Linked DNA regions of Homo sapiens: region 1 is linked to region 2. Evidence: promoter capture Hi-C in 16 types of primary human blood cells and fetal thymus (Javierre and others, 2016). All regions are on one chromosome and are shown on one strand. The core of a region is centred on a gene start or on the middle of the fragment in contact, and the rest is flanking DNA. Distances in the headings are between cores, read along the strand shown.

Region 1 (4,518 bases), core at 1,287-3,786, 270 kb before region 2:
TCTCTCCACACAGCTGTGGATCATGCCTGCCTTCGGGGCCCGCCCTCATTTCAGCAACACAGTGGAGGTGGATTTCTACGGCTACTCCCTCTGGGCGGTCATCGTCAACATCTGCCTCCCTTTCGGCATCTTCTACCGCATGCACGCTGTGTCCAGCCTGCTGGAGGTCTACGTGCTGTCCTGAGGCCTCCAACAGAGGCATGGGGGGCAGGAAGAGGGGGCTCAGCTCATGTGCCCACTCAGACACCCTCTGGGAATGAATCCCAGCTGGTGCCATATGACAGCCCATTTCCTTCTGGTCCCAGAGTGGAATTTTCACAAAAGTTATTTTTCCAGGTTCAATTTTTAAATCACAGTCAGGACAGGCCCATCCACCCCAGTATGACCGTGGGGCATGAGGTGACTGGGGAAGGGAGACCTCTCCTGGCAGCATTTCTAGGACCCAACAAGATCTGGAGGTGCCGGCTCTGGTTCCATCTCTAATCCCCTGCTGTGGCCTGGCCAGTGTACTGCCCGGAGCTGGAAACCAATAAACCTGTGATTTGCCCCCATCCCCACTGTTTGTCTCTGTTGTCCCGTCTGAGGTGGTCACAGGAGAGGATCTTGGGAGTCAGAGCGGGAAGGGCCCCTGGAGATTTTCAGGTCTCAAGTTTTGCAGTGTGTGAGCAAAATCCAAATGACAGACTAGCTACAGGGTGGGTAACTGGAGTTCCCAAACTGCCATCTTCCTCTTCCCTTTATCTCCAGGTGGCATATACATATAATCTTTTTTTTTTTTTTTTTTTGAGAGAGTGTCTCACCTTTTTGCCCAGGCTGGAGTGCAGATAGATCACTGCAACCTTAACCTCCTGGACTCAAGAGACCCCCCCACTTCAGCCTCCTGAGTAGCTGGAACTACAGCTACTACTGCCACCACGCCTGGCTAAATTGTGTGTGTGTGTGTGTGTGTGTGTGTGTGTGTGGAGATGAGGGTCTCATTGTGTTGCCCAGTCTGGTCTTGAACTCCTGGGCTCAAGTGATCCTCCCCCCTCAGCCTCCCAAAGTGCTGGGATTACAGGCATGAGCCACAGCACTCAACCTAATCATTTTCTTTGTGTGTGTCCCATGACAGAAGAAAGTTTAGGAAGCAGTGACCTAGTCTAATGTCTGCATTTTACAAAGAAGGAAGCTGAGGCCCAGAGAGGTAAAGTGACTTGCCCAAGGTCACACACCTGCAAAAAATCCAGAGCCTTTCTGCTAAGAACAATAATTTTCAAACTTTGTTTTCAAGCAGAACATTTTTCCCTTCAAATAAAATATTACAGGAACACAAGTTTATAACATAGATATAGGCTGTGTGCAGTGCCTCACGCTTGTAATCCCAGCACTTTGGGAGGCCGAGGCAGGCAGATCACTTGAGGTCAGGAGTTCGAGACCAGCCTGGCCAACATGGCGAAACTCTGTTTCTACTAAAAAATACAAAAAGTAGCCGGGCATGGTGGCGTGCGCCTGTAATCCCAGCTACTCAGGAGGCTGAGGCAGGAGAATCACTTGAACCCAGGAGGCAAAGGTTGCAGTGAGCCGAGATCATGCCACTGCACTCCAGCCTGTCTAAAACAAAAACAAAAACAAACAAACAAAAAAGATATAAACAAGGCAGTTCTAATTTAAAAGGAGTTGGGAGTCTCAGATCCTCACCACTTGACTTCCCCCTGCCCCAGGAGGTCCCCGAGGAGTTTCCCCTAAGCCCTAGGGTTTCTACTCTACAAAGGGTATAGAGATGCTTAGGAGGGAAGACAGCAGAGAGATGGGAAGGAGGCTCCACAGTTAGAAGAGTGAAAGGTGGTGGTGAGCATGCAGAGGCAGAGGGAGGGGAAGGGCTGGGAGAGGGAGGGCTGGGCGGGACCCATGGAGCAGATGGCATTTGGGGGAGATCATGGGAACAGCAGCACTGGGAGCTCAGGGGACTTTGAGGAAAGTGTGCCTGGACCCTGTCAGCAGAAGGAGGTGAGTAGTTCTCAGAGGCCGCAGGTGGAGCTGAGGAGGCCTCCTCCCCTGTCAGAATGGGGCTGTGCTCCAACTCTCCCCACCAAGTTCAGGTTTGACTTAAGGGAAACACAGGGTCCTGCTAGGCGGCCTCCAGGCCTGGGGCTAGGTAGGGTACAGGAAAAAGCGACTCCAGGCCTGGAGGGAGGGCGTCCATTCCCAGCTTGATCACCAAAGGAAAACGAGGCCTGAATTCCGCAAGCTCTTTACTGCGGACCTAAGAACACTGCACCCCTCTCCACCCCATCCGAGGGCGGGCTGCGAGTTGGAGACCCTGCAGGCCCGCGCCTGCACAGCCCTCAGCCCCGCCCGCTTGTCCAGCTGCCTCGCAATTGGCTGCACCCTCTGGGTCCGAGCCCCCGGGAGGGTAATTAACGAGGGATTAATGAGATTTCCAAAGTCAACAGAAAAATCGATGGGCCGCGGAGCCCGAGCGGCGGCTGCGCAGTCCCGCTGGGGGAGGGCGTCGCGGGCATCGGTCTCACCTGGACGGACGATCCGCTCAGCGCCCGCAGTCGGTGGTTAGCCCACGGCGATGCCTCTCCCGGCCTCAGGTAAGCCCGGAGCGCCGGCGGAACTTTCCCAGCTTGCGCACCCCAGACACTGGCACATACTACCCACCCCCCCAAAAGGGGGGTTCACAAGTAGGGGCTGCAGGGATTGGAACGGGAAAGCGGGGTGACTGTGGAGAGGTGAACTCCCTTTAATCTGAGGCCGGCCCCTCCACCCGCCCCGCAACCCGCGCTCCGCGCCCCTACTCCTTTCCGTGGACCCGGGGAGCACAGAGGGCCTCAGGGCGCGACTCCTCCCGGCCGGGTCCACACAGCAGAAAGCGCGGAGGCCTGGGGTGTGAGGTTGGTTGGGGCTGTCTGGACGCCCGGTCTGGGGCACGCAGGAAGCGGCTGCCCCGGCCCCGCAGTCCCTAAAATGGCTCGGAAGGAAATCCCGAGGGCGCCCGCACTCAGCAGCCTCCTCGGAGCCGGCCCTGCGCTGCTGGGCCGGGCGCCGGGCCCGACGGCTCCGCGGCTTTCATCGCCAATCCAGCCGAGACCCACAAACCAGTCCAGTGTCCCGGCCCTCCCTTGGACTGGCGTCGCGCCCAGGGGCGTGCCAGGGGGCGGCAGAGTACTGCTTGTCAGTTCCAGGTGCCCTTGCCCCAGCCTTCTGCCCGAGACCCCTAAATGCCCACTCCTGCCCCCTGCCCAGCCCGGGACCAAATTCGCTCCTTTGAAGGCTCACGCCAGCGGCCTTTGGAGGGCTGGACTTCAGGGTGGGAGACGGGGGATACTGTCAGGGCAAAGACCCCAGAGGAAGGGAACCTGGAACCTTGTCCCCCAGTGTCCCCTCCAGGCCTCCAGTCTGAATAAAATTCACCCTTGAAATTTCACCAGTAATCCCGACCCTTCCCAGCTCTCCAGGACCTCAAAAGAACTGGAAGGAAATGCAGAGATAGCCAACACTGAGTTTTCCAGGTGCCAGGCATTGCCGGCATTACTCTCTGCCCGTGCTTCGTGCATGTATTAAATCATGTCATTCTGACAAAGCCCCTATTCGGCATTCATCACCCCCCCACCCTTTTTTTTTTTTTTTTTTTGAGACAGGGTCTAACTCTGTCCCTCAGGCTGGAGTTCACTGTGGCGATCACAGCTCACTGCAGCCTCAGCCTCCCAGGCTGAAGCAATCCTCCCACATCAGCCTCCCGAGTAGCTGGGACTACAGGTGCATGCCACTACACCTGGCTAATTGTTTGGTATTTTTTGTAGAGACAGGGTTTTGCCATGTTCCCCAGGCTGGTCTCCAACTCCTGGGCTCAAGGGATCCGCTCACCTCAGCCTCCCAAAGTGCTGGAATTACAGGCGTGAGCCACTGCAGCCAGCCTCGTTCCGGAAGTCTTTATTGAGCATCTACTATGCACCAGCTACTATTCCATAGTTGTATATCAGTTTTGCAGATGACAACACTCAGGCACAGAGTCTAAGTAGCTCTCTGTAGTAGTCTCAGTAGTCTAAGATGACAGAGGTAATAAGTGCTGGAATCTGAGCACTTGATCATTAATCTACCCTGCTTGGGGGCTGGAGGAGAGGGTGCAGGTTTTGGGGAAGGTGAAGTAGAGCAGTTACAGTTGGGATATATGGAGCAGGGAGACATCCCGGTGAGCCCCAGCCTTGCTCAATTTGGGTGGGGGAGCTTAGGAGGGAAAGATAAAGATCATCGGGAGTCTCCTCCCCAGCCAGCCCGGAAAGAGTTTAATGGGAAGGGTCTCTGTCCACAGCTCTGGTGCTGAAAATTTCCCAAAAGATGCCAGAGTCAGTGGGCAATCACTGGGTGAATGTCACATCTGCACTAGGTTTGGGGGGTCCAAGTTAAGCAGGACCCGGTCTCTGTCCTGGAGGAGTTTCAGGACTTAATGGGAGCCAGCCACACCCACAGCACACCAAACAGGGCACACCTCTCAATAGAGGGGAGTGGCCCCAGCAAAGTAGCACCAGAAGG
Region 2 (4,352 bases), core at 1,077-3,576:
CAGCCTGACCAATATGGCGAAACCCCGTCTCTACTAAAAAATAAAAAATTAGCCCGGCGTAGTGGCGTGTGCCTGTAGTCCCAGCTGCTCGGGAGGCTTAGGCAGCAGAATCGCTTGAACCCGGGAGACGGAGGTTGCAGTAAGCCGAGATCGTGCCACTCCACTCCAGCCTGGCGACAGAGCAAGACTCTGTCTCAAAAAGACAAAAAAAAAAAAAAAAAAAAAAAGACAAAGAAAAAAAAAAGAGAGAGAGAGCTTGTTAGATCTTAGTGCTATATTTCCTTGATTATTTTTATTTTAAGGCTGACAAAATGCCATTTAAGATAATAAAAGTAGTTAAATTGCCTGACCAAGAGCTAGATAACATTGAGGAAAAAGTATTGGCAATATTCTTTGGTCTAATACTGCTATATACCAACCATTTTACCCAATCATTCAAATAGGCTTAGTAATACAAGGGCGAAAAAGGAAAACTACAGCTAATAGTGCTATCCTTGTTCTTTTTTTTTTTTGAGACGGAGTCTCGCTCTGTCGCCCAGGCTGGAGTGCAGCGGTGCAATCTCGGTTCACTGCAAGCTCCGCCTCCCCGGTTCACGCCATTCTCCTGTCTCAGCCTCCCGAGGAGCTGGGACTACAGGCACCCGCCACCACGCCCGGCTGATTTTTTTTTTTTTTTTTTTTTTTTTTTGTATTTTTAGTAGAGATGGGGTTTCACCGTGTTAGCCAGGATGGTCTCTCTCTCCTGACCTGGTGATCCACCCGCCTCGGCCTCCCAAAGCGCTGAGATTACAGGCGTGAGCCACCGCGCCCGGCCTATCCTTGTTCTATATACTGATTACGCATACTATATATGGACCTTTTCCTTCCTCAACCTTTCTATAGATTTCTAAGAATAAGGTTTTGATGAAGTAGTTTATGTATCCTTCTTTTTCAGTTAATCCTAATGGAAAACGGTTGGAAAAATGAAACAATTATCTTACAACTTATTTTTCTCTTTCCTCTCCTCCCCTCTCTCTAAAAGAGTGTGGCTCCTTCCCCTCTCTTTTCCCCTTCCTCTCTCTAGAGTGGTTAACTCTCAAACTGTATTTAACTCTGGAAAAGTTTTCAATTACACAGGCGATAACTCCAACTTGAGGTATAACGGAAACTTATTAAGAGAAAAAGAGCAAAATAATTTTTTTTTGAGACTCAGCAAAATAATTTTTTTTTTTTTGAGACGGAGTCTCCGTCTGTCGCCCAGGATGGAGTGCAGTGGCGCGATCTTGGCTCACTGCAACCTCCGCCTCCCGGGTTGGAACAATTCTCCTGCCTCAGCCTTACGAGTAGCTGGGATTACAGGTGTCCGCCACCACTCCCGGCTAATTTTTGTATTTTCAGTAGAGACGGGGTTTCGCCATGTTGTCCAGGCTGGTCTTGAACTCCTGACCTCAGGTGATCCAACCACCTCGGCGTCCCGGAGTGCTGGGATTACAGGCGCGCGCTACCAAGCACAGCTAATTTTTTTTTTTTTTTTTGAGACGGAGTCTCGCTCTGTCTCCCAGGCTGGAGTGCAGTGGTGCGATCTTGGCTCAATGCAACCTCCACCTCCCGGGTTGGAACAATTCTCTTGCCTCAGCCTTCCGAGTAGCTGGAATTACAGGTGTCCGCCACCACGCCCGTCTAATTTTTTATATTTTTAGTAGAGACGAGGTTTCATCATATTGGCCAGACTGGTCTTGAACTCCTGAACTCCAGTGATCCACCCACCTTGGGCTGCCAAAGTGTTGGGATTAGAGGCTTGAGCCACAGCGCCGGGCCTTCAGGGGTATCGATTTTGTTCCCGTGCCTCTTGTGTGTGTTCTAGTGTGGAAGTGGAGGCGATTGCTTTCCAGCACAAGCCCGTTTGACTGTCGGGGTTTGGACAAGTGGCTGCGACGACACTAAGGTGGAGACCGGGATGTAGCGAGGACTCCCAGAGTTGGGAGACGTTGTACGCTTACTGGGACCTAAATCCCGCACGAGTTCCCACCCAAGTGCCGCCGCCCCAGCCTACGCACGCGCATTCGCACCGTCTCCAGCCCCGGGGTCCTCCTGCCCCTCCCGCCGTCTCCGGGGGCCTTTTCTCCGCTCGGCACCAGGGTGTCCCCGGCGCCGCCTGATCCTGTTAGCGCGGTACTCTGAGTGCAGTCAGTCCTCGGCGCTGTTTTCCCTGATTTGCTGTCGACGCCAGGAAGGAAGGACGCGTGCAGAGGACCGCAGAGGGGTGGCCGTGGCTGAGAGGAGACAGCGCCGCAGCACTGAGGGTTTGGGCTTGCAGGCGCTGCAGGAGACGCCCAGGCGGAGTCTTGTCTCGCAGCCAGCTCTGAGCGGGAGGCCTGAGCGGGAAGCATTGGCGTCCGAGCGACTTCTAGGAGCCTGGGGTTCGGCGCTATGGAGGAGCTCGATGGCGAGCCAACAGTCACTGTAAGGGTACCCCGAACAGGCTTGCTCGTCCTTGCGGGTTGAGAACTGCGTCTGCTTAGTTACTTCAGGCTTGTCTGCTTCCCTAGTGGTCGCGAGGCGCTCGTCCCCTTCCCTCGACTCAGTTGCCACTTTTCCGGAGGTCGCAGTGTTAACGAGGTGCCCGCCCTAGGGTCGCAGTGGTCGCGGGGTTTCTGCCACCAGTCACAAACCCCGGCCTCGAAGGTCCCACTCCGTCCCTTTCCTTCCTTTGTGTTCCTGGCCTTTTTACTTCCCTTGCTTTTCCTCTTGGGCATTAGAGTGGGTTCAGCCCAAGCAGAGGAATTTATATTTTTATTCCAGCCGTATTAAGCTCTGCATCGCGGCACATTGAGCTTCTGCCTGTGTGGCCTAAGGTTTATTCAACGTATTATCTCAGGAGACTATTCCTGTTTTATCGCTGTGCATTCAATTCCATTTGAACTTTGAAGACAGTATGTCAACTGTGGATGATCTGTGATGTGTATAAAAAAAATTCACGCGCTTTATGTACGAGATACCTACCGTTTCTGCTAGTTGGATTGCTCTTGTTTTCCCTCTTGTTAACCAGAAGTGACTGAGGCAGGTCTCAACCGATAAAGGTTTAATTAGCTAAGGTTGAGGATCCAACCGGGAAAAAGCACAGGTCACAGGAGGATCTGAGACCTGTGCTTTTTCCAAAGATGGTTTTGGGAACATCACTAGTTAAAGAGGAAGGAGCTAGCAGGAGGGGCAAAAAAGGGAGGTTAGGCAGTGAGGAGGCAAATGATTACATTCTTGTGAGTCGGTGATTAGCCTCAGTAAATCTGCATTTTACCTGTGAAAAGAGGGAGCAGAGGAAAATTTTATGTATGCATTCATCTCAGGGTAGGTAGAGGGATTATGGTTATTATTACTGTTATTTTTTAGACGGAGTCTCGCTCTGTCTCCCAGGCTGGAGTGCAGTGGCGCGGTCTCGGCTCACTGTAACCTCCGCCTCCCGGGTTCACACCATTCTCCTGCCTCAGCCTCCTGAGTAGCTGGGACTACAGGTGCCCGCCACCACGCCCGGCTAATTTTTTGTACTTTTTTGTATTTTTAGTAGAGACGGGGTTTCACCGTGTTGGCCAGGATGGTCTCAATCTCCTGACCTCGTGATCCGCCCACCTCGGCCTCCCAAAGTGCTGGGATTACAGGCGTGAGCCACCGCACCCGGCCGATTTCTGGTCTTTTACTTGTGAAGATAAGCTGGTAGTTGACATTGTCAGAATCAACAGATCTTGATTTTAGGACTAGTTTATAGGGGCGATGTGTATCCTGAAAATTTTAGAGGCTCACAAGGAATTTCCTTGTGAGCAATTTGTGAGGGAAGCTCTCTGGGGAGATATGTGGCCTTCTTTTTTTTTTCTCTTGAGGCGGAGTTTCCCTCTTGTCGCCCAGGCTAGAGTGCAGTGGTGCGGTCTCGGCTCTCTGCAACCTCCGCCTCCCAGGTTCAAGCAATTCTCCTGCCTCAGCCTCCTGAGTAGCTGGGATTGCAGGCATGTGCCACCATGCCCGGCTAATTTTGTATTTTTTTAGTAGAGACGAGGTTTCTCCATGTTGGTCAGGCTGGTCTGGAACTCCTGACCTCAGGTGATCTGCCGGCCTCAGTCTCCCAAAGTGCTGGGATTACAAGTGTGAGCCACTGCGCCTGGCCTCATTCTTTTTTTGAGACGGATTCTCACTCTGTCACCCAGAGTGGAGTGCAGTGGCGTGATCTCAGCTCACTGCAACCTCTGGCTCCTGGGTTCAAGCGATTCTTCTGCCTCAGTCTCCTGAGTAGCTGAGATTACAGGTGCGTGCCACCACACCCAGCTAATTTTTGTATTTTTGGTAGAGATGGGGTTTCACCATCTTGGTCAGGCTGGTCTCCAAAG

Evidence for each region. The method cuts DNA at HindIII sites, captures the fragments that hold promoters and counts their contacts. A CHiCAGO score of 5 or more calls a contact.
Region 1: a contact is called between the fragment with the promoter of OTOP3 here and the fragment with the promoter of NUP85 in region 2, in 2 of 17 cell types (neutrophils and non-activated CD4 T cells). The highest score is 8.0, in neutrophils.

Annotation. Positions count from the first base shown.
Region 1 is chr17:74,933,362-74,937,879 of GRCh38, forward strand. OTOP3 (otopetrin 3) reads left to right here and starts at 2,537. Exons shown (of 7, transcript NM_001272005.2): 1 at 2,537-2,579. The coding sequence starts at 2,561. OTOP2 (otopetrin 2) reads left to right here. Exons shown (of 7, transcript NM_178160.3): 7 at 14-551. The coding sequence ends at 184. The HindIII fragment of the contact is 16,590 bases long and covers 1-4,518 here.
Region 2 is chr17:75,203,353-75,207,704 of GRCh38, forward strand. It overlaps NUP85 (nucleoporin 85), which reads left to right and starts at 2,327. Exons shown (of 19, transcript NM_024844.5): 1 at 2,327-2,442. The coding sequence starts at 2,410. RefSeq lists enhancers at 1,132-2,066, 2,067-3,000, 2,159-2,338. The HindIII fragment of the contact is 9,089 bases long and covers 1-4,352 here.